2 separate regions of the Homo sapiens genome follow, and region 1 is linked to region 2. The links are contacts of gene promoters, found by promoter capture Hi-C in human tissues and cell types (Jung and others, 2019). All regions are on one chromosome and are shown on one strand. Each heading gives the region's core, a stretch centred on a gene start or on the middle of the fragment in contact. The rest is flanking DNA. Distances are from core to core; before and after follow the strand shown.

Evidence for each region. Contacts are between HindIII fragments. The study calls those that stand out against the background at their distance.
Region 1: a contact is called between a fragment that was not itself captured here and the fragment with the promoter of ST8SIA5 in region 2, in 1 of the 25 tissues and cell types used here (dorsolateral prefrontal cortex).

What each region holds. Positions count from the first base shown.
Region 1 is chr18:46,280,963-46,288,085 of GRCh38, reverse strand. No RefSeq gene overlaps it. Among named protein-coding and RNA genes, the nearest start is that of ARK2C, 49 kb to the left of the region's middle. The HindIII fragment of the contact is 4,538 bases long and covers 1-4,404 here.
Region 2 is chr18:46,755,422-46,762,043 of GRCh38, reverse strand. It overlaps ST8SIA5 (ST8 alpha-N-acetyl-neuraminide alpha-2,8-sialyltransferase 5), which reads left to right and starts at 4,991. Exons shown (of 7, transcript NM_013305.6): 1 at 4,991-5,666. The coding sequence starts at 5,536. It overlaps ST8SIA5-DT (ST8SIA5 divergent transcript), which reads right to left and starts at 4,601. Exons shown (of 3, transcript XR_001753434.3): 1 at 3,585-4,601; 2 at 1,778-3,247. RefSeq lists a silencer at 5,019-5,408. The HindIII fragment of the contact is 8,707 bases long and covers 1,453-6,622 here.

The sequences.
Region 1 (7,123 bases), core at 886-3,385, 470 kb after region 2:
GTAGCTGGGACCACAAGTATGTGCCACCATGCCCCGGCTAATTTTTTATTTTTTATAAAGATGAGATCTCCGTATGTTGCTCAGAGTGGTCTCAAACTCCTGGGCTCAAGCAGTCCTCCTGCCTCAGCCTCCCAAGGAGCTGGGATTACAGGCACCCAGCCCCCAACCAGCTTTTAAGGAATGCTGGAAATAAATGCAAACACAAAGTAGACTGAGAAGGACCATGCCATCGTTTCGCCACCATATCGTAGACCTTGTTTTTCCATCTGCTGGGAATGATTTCCACCATCCATCCCACCCATGGACCATCCCAGAGAATTCTCCGTGTGCCCAATTCAGATGTCACCTCCTCTCTGGTGTCTTCCTTGACCCCTACAGACTAGAATAATTGTACCTCTATCTGGGCTCACAGTTCACATTACATTAGTCTGTTCTAAGTGCTTTCATTGCTTACATTTGTGTCTCTCCTCTCAGACTGTCGTTTTGTGGATGCCTCTGGGGTGATGGCTACGTCTCTTCCTTGTAGCTTTAGCATTAAGCAATATAGCTGGCATACGGTAAGAATTCAGGGTATGTTTATTGCAACAAAATGTTGATTAATAATTATTCTTCATTTGAGGTTCAGTTCAAGCCCTTCTACCCACAGAAACATTCCCATTACTTACCTAATGTATGTTGAGTGCCTACTGTTTACCCTACCCTGTTCAGGGTAATGAAAAGAACCCTTAGCGCAACTGCGAAGCAAGCAAAGGCTTTCTTTAAATATCACCAGAATTCCTATCCTCACCACTCCTGTTCCTGAGACTTAGATCCCTCACCCAGATTTTCAGGGACCTGCTAACTGACCTGATGAATTTAACTTTCATCTTCCAGGGTGTCCCATACTCAGCTCCCACAAGACCTAATTACATCATATGCACATCAGCGTCTAGCACATAGCTAGGGCTTCATAAATGTTACTAAGCTAAATGAATGAATAAGCAAATGAATGTCACTATCTTAAGAATCCCATGAGGCTCCCAATTGTAATACTGATCGTTATGGACTGAATGTGTGTGTCCTCCTGAAATTCATATGTTGAAGCCCTAAGCCCCAAGGTCATAGTATTTAGAGATGGGGACTTTCAGAGGCAATTAGGTTTAGATGGGGTCATGAGGGTGTGGACCCTATGATGAAATTGGTGTCCTTATAAGAAAAGGAAGAGAGTATGGCGTTCCCTCTCTCTACCAGTCGGGACAAAATGGAAAGGTAGTCGTCTGCAGCCCAGGAGGAGAGCTCTCACCAGAACCTGAACTCTGATGGACTTTGATCTTGACTTTCCAGCCTCCAGAACTGTAAGAAAATTAATTTCTTTTATTTAAGCTACCCAATCTATGGTATTCTGTTATGGCAACCCAAGCTAAGACATGATTTTTCAGAGAGTTTTGCAATTTCAAATACTGTATTCTGTCCTCTTATCCCCATTAACATGCTATTGTTTGTTAGATTATCAGTCCTGAGTTTGGTTTAGCAAATAAAGTCATTTTCATTGCCACTATAGTGACCTTCAAATCTAAACAGTCCTGCCTGACTTTCAAGGCCCTCTGCAATCCATCCCACCCTATGTACATACCTACAAAAAAACTCCCTCCTGCCCCTGCCCTAATCTATTGTTTCAGTAGAGAAAGTACTTCACACATGTAGCAGATACATTACTGGGTTTTAAAATAAGTCAACTGTAGAAAAGTTGGAAAAATCAAAACAATCCAAAGGTGAAAACATCTCCCACAGTCCAAGCATTAATATTCACTTCTTTGCCATCTCTTTTCAATGAATTTAACTATATTCTTCCAACAAAATTGAGAGCACACTGTTTTGCATCATGTTTATTTCCCTTAGCGATAACTAAACACATTTATTTCTGCCTCCATGTCTTCACCTATAGATATACAATCTTAGCATTGAAAGGAGCCAGAGAAGGGCAGGGAATCTTCAGTAACATTCAGAGAAGAAAGTGACACAAGAACTAGCTTCCACTGAATACTCCCAGGAATGGGCACTCCCCTCCCTCCCAAGGCAGCCTGACCCCTGAGGGAGAATTTCTTCCTGGAACGCTCTTCCCATTGTCCATGAGCTGAAATTGGCCTCTCTGAGCCTCTGTGTTCTACTCATGCCCCCTTGAATGGTACCCGATAGACTACAGATTCTTCCTGACAGCCTGTTGACTCCTCAAAAACTGAGAGCATGACCCCTTTTCTAGGTTCAACAATTCTGAACCCCTTGCCATCTTCTATATTACCTAAATTCCACTCTGCCGGTAATTCTTGTCAGCCGTGTTATTAAATCATGCCATTCAGTTAGAATTGTAGGTGTCTTTTAGTTACTTCTTTACAATCTTCTGTATTTTCCCAATTTCTTACCATGAATGTATATTACTGCCATTATTACAAAGAATAATTTCATGTATGATGTTACTTCTCTGTTGTCCTGCTATTGCTTTTCACTCTTAAATGGCTGGCGCCTCCAGAGCCACTGACATTCTCTAATGTGCCATCCCTCCCCATCAGAGAGAGGGTCAGGGTGCTCCTCTGACCCTCCAGTGACTGGATTAGAGCCCCTTGGCTTCCACTGTCATGGACTTCGCCTAACGGGACATCCCCCTGTTCACACATCACTTTCTCATGACCACACAGAGAGCATGGGAGACTTCGTTCAGTGCCTTGTGATGATACCCTTTGCATTTCCTATGATGCTGACAATAAATATGTGACGTGAATGAAAAAAAATTATTGGCTGAGCACGGTGGCTCATGCCTGTAATCCCAACACATTGAGAGGACAAGTGGGTCACCTGAGCCCAGGAGTTTGAGACCAGCCTGGGCAACACAGCAAAACCCTGTCTCTACACAAAATACACACACACGCACACACACACACAAGAAAAAAATTAGCCGGGCATAGTGGTGTGCACCTATGGTTCCAGCTACTTGGGAGGCTGACACTGGAGGATTGCTTGAGCTCAAGAAGGCAAGGCTGCAGTGAGCCATGATTGTGCCACTGCACTCCAGCCTGTGTGACAGAGCAAGATCCTATCTCAAAAAAAGAAAAAAAAAAAAAAGGAAGAAAAGAAAGAAAAAGAAAACAAAATTATTTGATAACGCAAGTCCCTGGGAGTTTGATTTGACATGATTTTAATGAGTTAATTCCAGGATGGGCACAGTTCTTCGCAAAGTGCTCCCAAACCACCTGTTTAATAATTCTAGAATGCTACTGAGTGTCGTTAAGCTTACATCCCAGGAATCATGTTCTTCACTTTTTGGAAATCGGGACATTTTGCTCCCTCTGGCTGGTTGGTCCTTCCTCTCTTTCTGAACTCATCCTAAAAGTCCTGTCTCCTTCTCCGGCCATTCAGGACCACTCGGTGGACTCTCCCTTCCTGCAATTGTGGTAATTATTCAGAACCAGAATGAAACAACAGCAGTAGTAATAGCTGCCACATACTGGGAGCTTGCTCTATGCCAGACACCACGCTCAAGGACTTCACAATGCTTCATCACGTGTATCACTTAGCACTGTATCATACTTTTGAATATATATGTGTGTGTGTAAAGTTTTAATCACTTGAATAACAGCTGCTATTATGACCATTTAGCAGATGAAGAAACTGATTCAGAGAGGTTCAGGCTCCTGCACTGAGCCTTAGACAGTGAACAATTTCAGGGTCCAAACCTGGGTTTATCTGGGTCCAAAGTCCAAGTTCTTACTTCCTCTACCCTGGCATTGTTTCTGGGGCTTTCTATGATTTCTGAGGCTTCCATCTGAATATTTCTGGCACGTCCTGTGCAGCACCTAACATGGCCATAGGCACACAGTAAGGGAGTCCTTAGGGGCCAAGTGGTTTTTCTAGAGCACTGGCCGTGGTCCTGCCTCTTGTGGGTGCTGGTGTCATCTTTCACCTCTACCTCCAGGCACCGGGAGAAGCTGACTGGAGGGGATTTGGCAGAGGCCAAAGAGGGCTCAGCCCAGCTGTCTCCACCTCTCTTGCTGGATGGGAGAGGCACCACATTACAGAAACTGATATACCCAATGCCCTGAGACCCAGGGAGGGCAATCCTGTGAGAAGTTTCCACCCTTTGTTCTCTCCCACCGAGCCCCCAGGGGCTGATAATCTAATTCTCAACAAGTCCTTCCTGGCTGGTAATTGAATTGTGTTTTCCTCCCAGTCCAATCAGGGCCCTCATCCTACATCTGTCTGACAAAACACTAGGCCAGGCATCTTGGGAGGGGCAGAGACCTGGGAGGCACTTTTCAGCTTCCAGGAGCTTAATATTTCAGTTGCCACAGGTGCAGGGACTGACATCCTATTGACTAGCAATCCATGACTGCTGCCCACTTCCAGGACAATCGCTGAGGTCAGGAGGGCTCAAGGCGGTGAGCCTTAAAGGAGGGTTGTGTTGTGGAGGAGGGGATGATGGTCAGCTGGGTTCTGGTAGACAGGGAGGAAAGGCGGAGGTGTGGGCAAAGTCCTGGAGGTGGGAACATGCACGACACATTCAAGTAACAAGAAGTAAGTCTGCCTGGATGGGCCTTCACTGTCTTCAACCGAGGGATGACGAATGACTCCAAAACACTCAAATTGTTCCTGGGAAGTCGGGTGGGGGGAAGTGTGAGTCAGCAGGCTCCTCTCACTATGCCTATGGCCCAGCCTCGGTCTACAGAACAGAGAGAGCCTGGTGCTGGAACTGGGTGTGCAAGGGTGCCCCAAATCAGGACACAACCACCTCATTCGTCCAGCCCAGAAATAGGGACATTTCTTCATCTCCTCTCCCACTCCTACCTAATCTAATCTGTCTCCAAGTCCTGCCTATTTCACCATCTCAGCTCTTCAGTCATCTCTCTGGCAGGCAGGCACTGTCACATCTCCCCCGTCTCTTGGGGACGAGCCCCTCCCTGATTGCTCTCCTCCACCTTGTTGCTCTCTGGCACATCCACACATATCTCCATGTGGCTCCCCCATGCATGCCACTTTCCATGGCTTCCCAGTGCCTTTAGGTCCAGAGCCTTTTGTGGCTTTGTCCTCTCATCTGGCTGGTGCCATCTCTTGCGACTCTTAAGCTCCCCAAAACATTCTGGTTTAGTGCTGGGCCTTTAGCTCAATTTATGATTACAACGCCCATACCACCAGTGCCTTCTATATGTGCTTAATCCTCACGGAAACCCCGTGTGGAAGAGGAACAGAGAGGTTAAGTGACTTGTCTGTGGTCACACAGCTGGTAAGGGCGGAGCAGGATTCGCACCCAGGTGACTTATTCCCATAGCCCAGCTTCTTTATTTTTAGAGACAGCGTCTTGCTCTGTCACCCAGCCCAGAGTACAGGGACATGATCATAGCTCATTGGAACATTGAACTCTTGTAGTCCAGCTTCTTAACACTAGATTATAGTCTCTTCAGAAATGTCTATGGACACCAGTGGCCTCCTAGCCCTCCACATTCCCCTCCAACGTATGTTCACTATCAAGTCCCAACTGCATTTAAGGTTTCTGCTTATCTGACACCCCTCCACGAAGCTTTCTCTGGTGCCCCACTGTCCAGGTTTGGGTTAGGGTAGTGGTTCCCCTACTTTAATGCACACTGGAATTACCTGGGAATCTTTGTAAAAATCCTGCTGCCTGACTCCCACTCCTAGACATTGCGATTAAATCAGTACAGGGCGCACCCTAGACAAAAGCTCCGTAGATGACTGTAACTTGCAACAAATCTGGTAACAAAAGGCAGTGCAGTCATTCTGAAATTGGAGCAGGCATCAGAATTACCAGGAAGGCTGATGAAAACAGATTGCTGGGCACGGCCCCAGACTTTGATTCTATACATCTCGGTTAAGGTCCGAAAATATACATTTCTAGCAAGTTCCCAGGTGAGACTGCTACTGCTGTGGGTCCAGAGACCACATTCGGAGAGCCGCTGAGCTAAGGAGTCCTCCAGGTGCCCAAATGATCCCAGAGCACCCGGTGGTCATCGCCACCTAAGCCCTTATCACATCTATTCTAATTGTCTGTGTGCTCCTCCACTACCCCGGCCAGGCCACAGCTTTCTCTGTTATCTTTGGTAACCAGTGTCAACAGAGGTTGGGTCAATGAATCCACGAGACACCCAGGCAGGCTGCGCACTCCACAGCAATCCTTGTTTCTAACTGGAAAAAGTTAGAAACTGAACGCCTCCTGGGGGCAAGCACTGTCCTAAGCACCTCACACCAACGGCCCCTTAATCTTCACAAGCACTCTACAAGTAGGTGCTACTACCATTCCATTTCAGAGACCCTCAAGGAAACCTGAACACAGAGGGGTGGAGTAACCATTGTGCTGGGAGGCCCTTTATCAGGTGACCCCAAAGCTCTCCCCCACCACCGGACCCACATGCCCAGTCTAGACTCCCAGTGGGTTTCCGAGTACAAGTCTCCATCTATTGGTGGGTTGTGAGATCAACCAGTGGGTGTAAGCAGCATCTTTTAAATGACCCAATCTGGCAGACCTGAACAGAAATAGACAAGAATACACTCAGGTAGTGACAGTAAGTGTTGTTCAGCAAAACATCCATGTGCATAAGCCTATACTGGCTCATGATATAAAATCTATGTCTGACTGTGAATCATAGTCAACAAAGTTTTCAAAACATTAGCTTAGAGAAACAGCCTCCAAATCTCCAAGCAAGTCCTCCGTTCTCCTGCCAGAGACGGAACTAGGGAAGAGCTAGGTTGGCCTCTGCTGGGCACTGCCGGGACTGCATCATGAGCCTGGTAAAGTGCCCCTGGGCAGGAGGGCTCTGCTCTGCGTGGCTGTGGAGAGGGAGTTCCAGTTTCAAAATACAAAATAATAATAATAATAATCAAATAAATAAAATAAAATGTTAATTCATTTTTATTTCCAAAACAAATTCTTCCCTGGCCATCAGTCCCACACTGTCTCCGCTGTGGTCGATGGCTTTGTCTGTAATCATTTCATCTTCTCAGGTAGAGCAGAGGCTCCTGAGGGGCCCCAGGGATTTGTGTCTCCACCCAGACCACTGTGGCTGGCTGACTGGCCAGCATGGAAGAAGGAAGCTGTTGAATCATTTAGCTCATCATGTAGAACCATTTAGCTTATGATACT
Region 2 (6,622 bases), core at 3,742-6,241:
GTAGGAGTGTGACATGCCTGAGGTGCAAGAGAATCTTTCTGTACTATGATGCATCAGGTGGTTTATGGATTACTAATAATAATATCTCTACCCTTTGAAACAAACTGGATAAATTGGAACAAATGCAGGAGAAGAATATCTGGGAGTGATGCTGAGACAGGCAGGAGGATGCTTCTCAGCTTGGAGATATGAAAGCTGAAAGGTGGCTTCATCTCCAGGTTCAAGATTATAAATGATTTTTCATAAATTATATTGGATACAATTTGTACTTCATAAGGGGACTGAACAAGGGGTTTAAATCATTTTTCTGTTATATAATTTATTAAAAACGAGACTGATGAAGTAGAGTCTTGTGTCTGCAGTTGACCATGTAATGGCAAAACCCTGGCTCTCTGATTACAAGGTTATAACTGGGCATTTCTGCTCACCTGACAGCAAGATACCCTCATCACAGACAAAGTGTCCCAGAGCCAGGAATCAGCCTCTTGAAGGCCTGGCTTGTTAACATAAATGTAAAGAGGCACAAAAACAGCATGTACTTATCACATACTCCTCGAACACATGGGTGAAATGTCACTTACATAATCTGACAGGTTGCAGTTGTGCTGTATGATATAAAAACTGGCTTTTTAAAACTGGTAGAAACCTCTAAGTTTTTGAAAAAGTCTTTCCATTTTATATTGGAGACAATGCTCACAGCATGAGTAATGCTCATCAGTTATCAGTAATTTAGCAGATGGTGCCAGTGTTGACATTTGTTCTGGCTTAATTGTGCATGAGTGTGTGTTTTAAACAATGATGCAGCTGTCCCCATTCCTGGCAATTAGAATATAAAAATGGTGTTCACTGAATCTGGCATAGTGATCATTTATCCATGTGTTTACTCTTTTGTTTGCAAGGCCTTCTGAGTGTTTGCTGCAATTCTACAATCAGAATATAAATTTGGCTTAAAATGGAATCTAGCTCCATACTGATAGGAACAAAAGGGACTTCAGACCTCCATGTTTTGAGATCTTAGGTCTCCAGCTTCACTAGAGATGCCTGTGAGGTGTTTGTGTGTGTGTTAAAGATACCTCTGATATGAAGATAGTCAGAATTAAAATGCCATTAGGATTAGAAGAGCAGTGTCAGCAGAGACCACTGGACTATTGCTGATCATGTGCAGAGGATCAAGTGACCAAAATCTATTCTACATAGAGTCTTGCTGCAAAGTTCTAGCTATTCCTAATGCCAGCATCAATCTCATTCACTGCCAATTCATGCAGGAGACCTAACTGTTGAGTACCTCCTCAAGGGAGAGTGGGTGCCTTTGGAGCTGTTGTTGTCCCTCAACTATCTTGGCTCTTGATTGGGTGGGCTTTTTGCTATTAGGTTAGCCAGTTAGTTTTATTGTGGGGACGAATTCCTTATTAGGTCGTGGCAAATCTGGATAAAATACCTATTAAAAATAATTTTCCCTTTGGAAAAACTTTGGCAGTAATTGCTAAAGCTGAACATATGTATACTCTCTGACCTAGCAATTTTACTTCTAGAAATAGATACCCAGCAGATATGCATGCATGTTTTCACCCAAAAAACCATGCACTGGAAGGCTGATGGCAGCAACTACCCAGATGTCCATCAGCTGTAGAATGGATAAGTTGTGCCACAGTCGTTTGATGGCATACTATATAGCAATAAGATTGAACAAACTATAACTGCACACAGAAGTATTAGTTTCATATTGCAGTGAAACATATTACCACAAACTTAGTGGCTTAAAGCAACACACACTTACAAGCTCACAGATGTGTAGGTCTTACATCTGGGCACGGCATAGCTGGGTTCTCGGCTGAGGGTCCCAACAGCTGAAATCAATGTGTAGGCGGCTGGAGCTCAGAATCCTCTTTGAAGTGTATTCAGGTTGTTAGCAGAAGTCGGAGTCTGCTTCATGATTGGAGGACTGAGGTCCTCATTTCCTTGCTGGCTGTCAGCCAGGAGCCAGTCTCAGCTCCTACAGGCTGTCTGCATCCTTTGCCTTGTGGACCTCTTCTGTCTTCGAAGGCAACAGCAAAGAATTTCCCTCATATCAGCCACTCTCGTGATTCAAATCTTTTTCACCAGGAAGAGCCCAGTCCCTTGTAAGGGCTCCATATGGCCATGCCCACTGAGGACAATTTCCTGATATTAAAGCCAACTGATTTAGGCCAATTACATCTGCAAATTCCCTTCACAGCAGCGCCTAGATCAATACCTATGGGAATGTGCATACAAGAAGGGGTGAGGAATCTTGGGGGTCTTCTTGTAATTCTGCCCACCACATGCAACAGCATGGATAAATCTCATAGCAACGTTAAGCAAAAGAAGGCAGACACAAAATAATATATAATGTATAATTGCATTTATATAAAACACAAAACAGGAAGCACTGATCTTTGGGGTTAGGATTCAGAACAGTGGTTACTCTTGAGTACATAGTAACCAGATAGGAACATGAGGGGACTCCTGGGGGCCGATAATTGATCTGTGTACTGGTTACATGGGTGTGTTCAGCTTGTGAAAACACAGCGACCTGAACATTTATGATTTGTGTACTTTTCTGTAAATGCATTATATTGCAATTAAAAAGTTCTTAGGATAATTTTGATTCATTTCTTGAAAATAGATTTGTTTTTCCAAGAAAACAGCACTCAAAGACAGGTATCAGAGTGAGCACCTGATGGGGTGGAGAATAAGCAGGAATACAAAAGAAACAACAGTGCCTTGCCTGGAGTGAAGATGATAGTACCCCTCAAACTCTACACTTGAGCACCAAGTAGAGAAAAATTAGTGAAAAATTAGTACTGTCATCTTGGAGCCTGTGTGTAGGACCTACCTCATAATTTGGCCCAGTGCAAAGAGAAATGCAAACCCCCTTGTTCAAAAGTTTGAAGACAGCAAGAGTGGAGCAATCAGTCAAAATCAATGGTGGTGGTGGGGACAAATGAACAAGTCCCACTCCCAAGAAGCCAGCCTGCCTGTGTGTGTGGGAGAAAGAACCTCATCTCAGAATCCCAAGACTTGTTGCTAGGTGAGTTACTTTGGGCATCTGTTGCTTTAGTCCTTTCAGCTGTAAAATGGGTTAGCCAGGGGCTAGGAGGTGAAAATTCATTAATATATGCAAGTGAAGCACGTTTTTATGTGCCAGACAGCAAACAAATACAGGAATTATTATAATAATGGGCCCTCTAAATGTTGGAGTTTTTCTTTAATTGGTTAAAAAGCCTACCTGTGGCCGGGCGCGGTGGCTCACGCCTGTAATCCCAGCACTTTGGGAGGCCGAGGCGGGTGGATCATGAGGTCAGGAGATCGAGACCATCCTGGCTAACAAGGTGAAACCCCGTCTCTACTAAAAATACAAAAAATTAGCCGGGCGCGGTGGCGGGCGCCTGTAGTCCCAGCTACTCGGGAGGCTGAGGCAGGAGAATGGCGTGAACCCGGGAAGCGGAGCTTGCAGTGAGCCGAGATTGCGCCACTGCAGTCCGCAGTCCGGCCTGGGCGACAGAGCGAGACTCCGTCTCAAAAAAAAAAAAAAAAAAAAAAAAAAAAAAAAAAAAAAAGCCTACCTGTGACCTTGCAGAGAAATACAGAAACTCTTCATGGATAGCACAGGGGCCACTTCTGCCTTATGAATTAACACAAATCCCGAATTCTTGGTGGAACCCTTATCATGAGATTTTACTGTGCATTATTTGATCTTTCCAGTTCAAAGAAGAAACTACTAAATGCCAAGGTCGAGAGTATTGGAGTCTGGGCACTTCCCCCATCAAAGTTCTTGTGCTGAGGTTTGAGTTTCGGTCAGGTTCGCTGTTGAATCCCTGGCCTGACTCTAGAACATCCCGGAGTGCCTGCTGGAACCTGGGAAGGGGCACCCTAGAATCTTCCAACCGGCCTCAGTGGCGAGCGCCGCGGGCACACGACTCCCAGCGCTTGGAGCCTCTGCGGTGTTAGGATGACAGGACTGTCGCCTGGCCGGGTTGGGGGGTGGGGACGGTATTTCAGGCTAAGAATTTCTGAGAGGCACGACATTCGCATTGCGTTTCTGTGATTATTCTCCCTGGCTTGCGTTCTGAAGCACGAATCTTTCCGGATGTAGTAACTGGCTTCCTAAAGCTTTGGGGGGACTGTGGTCCCCGAAGGCTGCCGGCTGCCTGACCTAAGATTTACGAGTGGTTCCAAGGATGAGACAAGGTCCCAGTGTCTCGGTGACAACAGGGTCTTTGACGAACGGCTGCCGAGTTGCAGCTGGGGAGGGGGAAGAGGACTGTGGCGGGGGCGGGGAGCCCCTGAATTTCTTCCTTGTAGGAGTTGGGCGCCGGGGCACGGGCAGGCAGCCCCGCAGGCCATCAGCATGCAGGAGCGGCGCGCCGTCCTTGAAGGGCTGCCCGGCTGACCTTGCTCCGCTTTCTCCGGAGAAATCGCTAGGAGAGCGCGAGGACGCGGCCACGATGGTGACTCAGTGCCCTGCGCGCCGCACGCAAATGCTCCCTTCCATCAAGTCCAGCTCCGCAACTGTTGTTTCCTCTTCCTGCCCTCTTTTTTTTCTTTTTTTTTCTTTTTGAGACGGAGTCTCGCTCTGTCGCCCAGGCTGGAGTGCAGTGGCGCGATCCCGGCTCACTGCAACCTCCGCCTCCCAGGTTCAAGCGATTCTTCTGCCTCAGTCTCCCAAGTAGCTGGGACTACAGGCGCGTGCCACCACGCCTGGCTAATTTTGTTTTTTGTATTTTTAGTAGATACGGGTTTTCGCCATATTGGCCAGGCTGGTCTTGAACTCCTGACCTTGTGATCCGCCCGCCTCGGCCTCCCAAAGTGCTGGGATTACAGGAGTGAGCCACCGCGCCCAGCCCCTGCCCTCTTTTTAATTCCAAGATTCAAACCCGGCGTTTTGCGCTCCGCCCCTCCCCCTCCCCACGGCCCGCCTATCATTAGCCAGACTGCGCGGGTGTTTTGTACGCCCCCTCCCCCCGTCCCTATCGGCAGAACCGGAGGCCAACCTTCGCGATCCCTTGCTGCGGGCCCGGAGATCAAACGTGGCCCGCCCCCGGCAGGGCACAGCGCGCTGGGCAACCGCGATCCGGCGCCGGACTGGAGGGGTCGATGCGCGGCGCGCTGGGGCGCACAGGGGACGGAGCCCGGGTCTTGCTCCCCATTGGCCGCCACCTCGGCGGGAGGGGCCGCCTCCGGCTCGTGGCACCTGGCGTCTCCCCTCCGCGGGGAAATCGGCGGCTACCCGGCACCGGCGCCTGGAGGTAAAGGTACCCGGGGGTGGGGAAGGCCCCTGGCCGCGGCAGAGCTCCCTGCCACCGGCCCTGTCCTGCTTGCCGCCCCAGCGCCTGCGACGCTTGGATGCCCCCAGCTCCGGCCGCGCCAACCAGAAACTTTGCCCCTCGAAGTCCCCCGCCTGCCTGACCGCACCGTGAGGCGCCAAGTCGGCCGCGCGCCCCCCGGGGCCCCGGAACCCCGCGAGTCATTGCCTGGCCGCCCCGTACCCCGCGCCCGCGGCGCCCGGTAGCCAGGATGCGCTACGCGGACCCCTCGGCCAACCGGGATTTGTTGGGGAGCCGAACTTTGCTCTTCATCTTCATCTGCGCCTTTGCCTTGGTGACCTTGCTGCAACAGATCCTGTATGGCAGGAACTACATTAAGAGGTAAGAAAGTCCATTGAGAGGGCGGGATGCGCGGAGCCGGCCGGCGAGCCCCCGGGTGGCAGTGGCCGCGGCAGCTTCGGTCGCAGCGCCCCGGGGTGAGTGGCCGTGGGGTCCGCTCCTAGCCCCGAGCATGGCCGCTTAGGCTTGGGCCACCGCGTTTCCAAGAGCATCCTTGCTTGCTTCTGCCCAGCGCTGGCTGGAGGGTCCAGACAACTTTGTTCCGCTGTGAAAAATGAAGGACAGAATAGAATTCCAAGCAACCAGGCTGACGATAAATCCATTTAATACCCGGAGAGACCGCATGGATCGGAGCGGTGTCCTCCAGACCCACAGTTCTATGGCCATTTGTTTGGACTCCGGGGTCGGAGGGCTCAAAATCGTATCGATTGTTTGTTTGTTTGTTTGTTTGTTTATAACCTCGCGAGTCCTGAACTTTCGTAAGGACCCTTGGGAGAAAAAGCATTTTCCCCTCCAGGAGCTTCGGGTTCGGTGGGGGTGGTAGTGTGGGCTGTGGCTATGCGACAGGGATAGTGATAGTGAAGTCTTACAATCCCACAGCCACTGGATCTGTGAAACTCAACAACCTGATTCCTTCTGAAACAGATGGCTTTTTTTTTCTCATCCTTAGCGCAAAAGGTCAGAGCTGCAGCATAAGTTAACCCCTCGTTGGGCTCTCCCCCTACTCCACCCCAATCCACGGTTAAACTCCAAGAGAAAGAGCAGTAGGAGGTGTCACTCAGAAATTCAATTCGGGCACAGCCTCAGCCTCTCTATTTGCAGAAGATACACTGAAATGCCAGCCACTTCCTTCTGCCGGCTCTGCTGGCTTAAGGAAACACTTGGGGTTCCTCCGCCTGGTTTGAGAGATTAGGGGAGGTTCTTGCTCTAGGATACACCCATATCAGAGCCTCTCTTGGCAAGAGCCCTCTCTCCTAGCTGCTGGGCTGTTTTTTAGT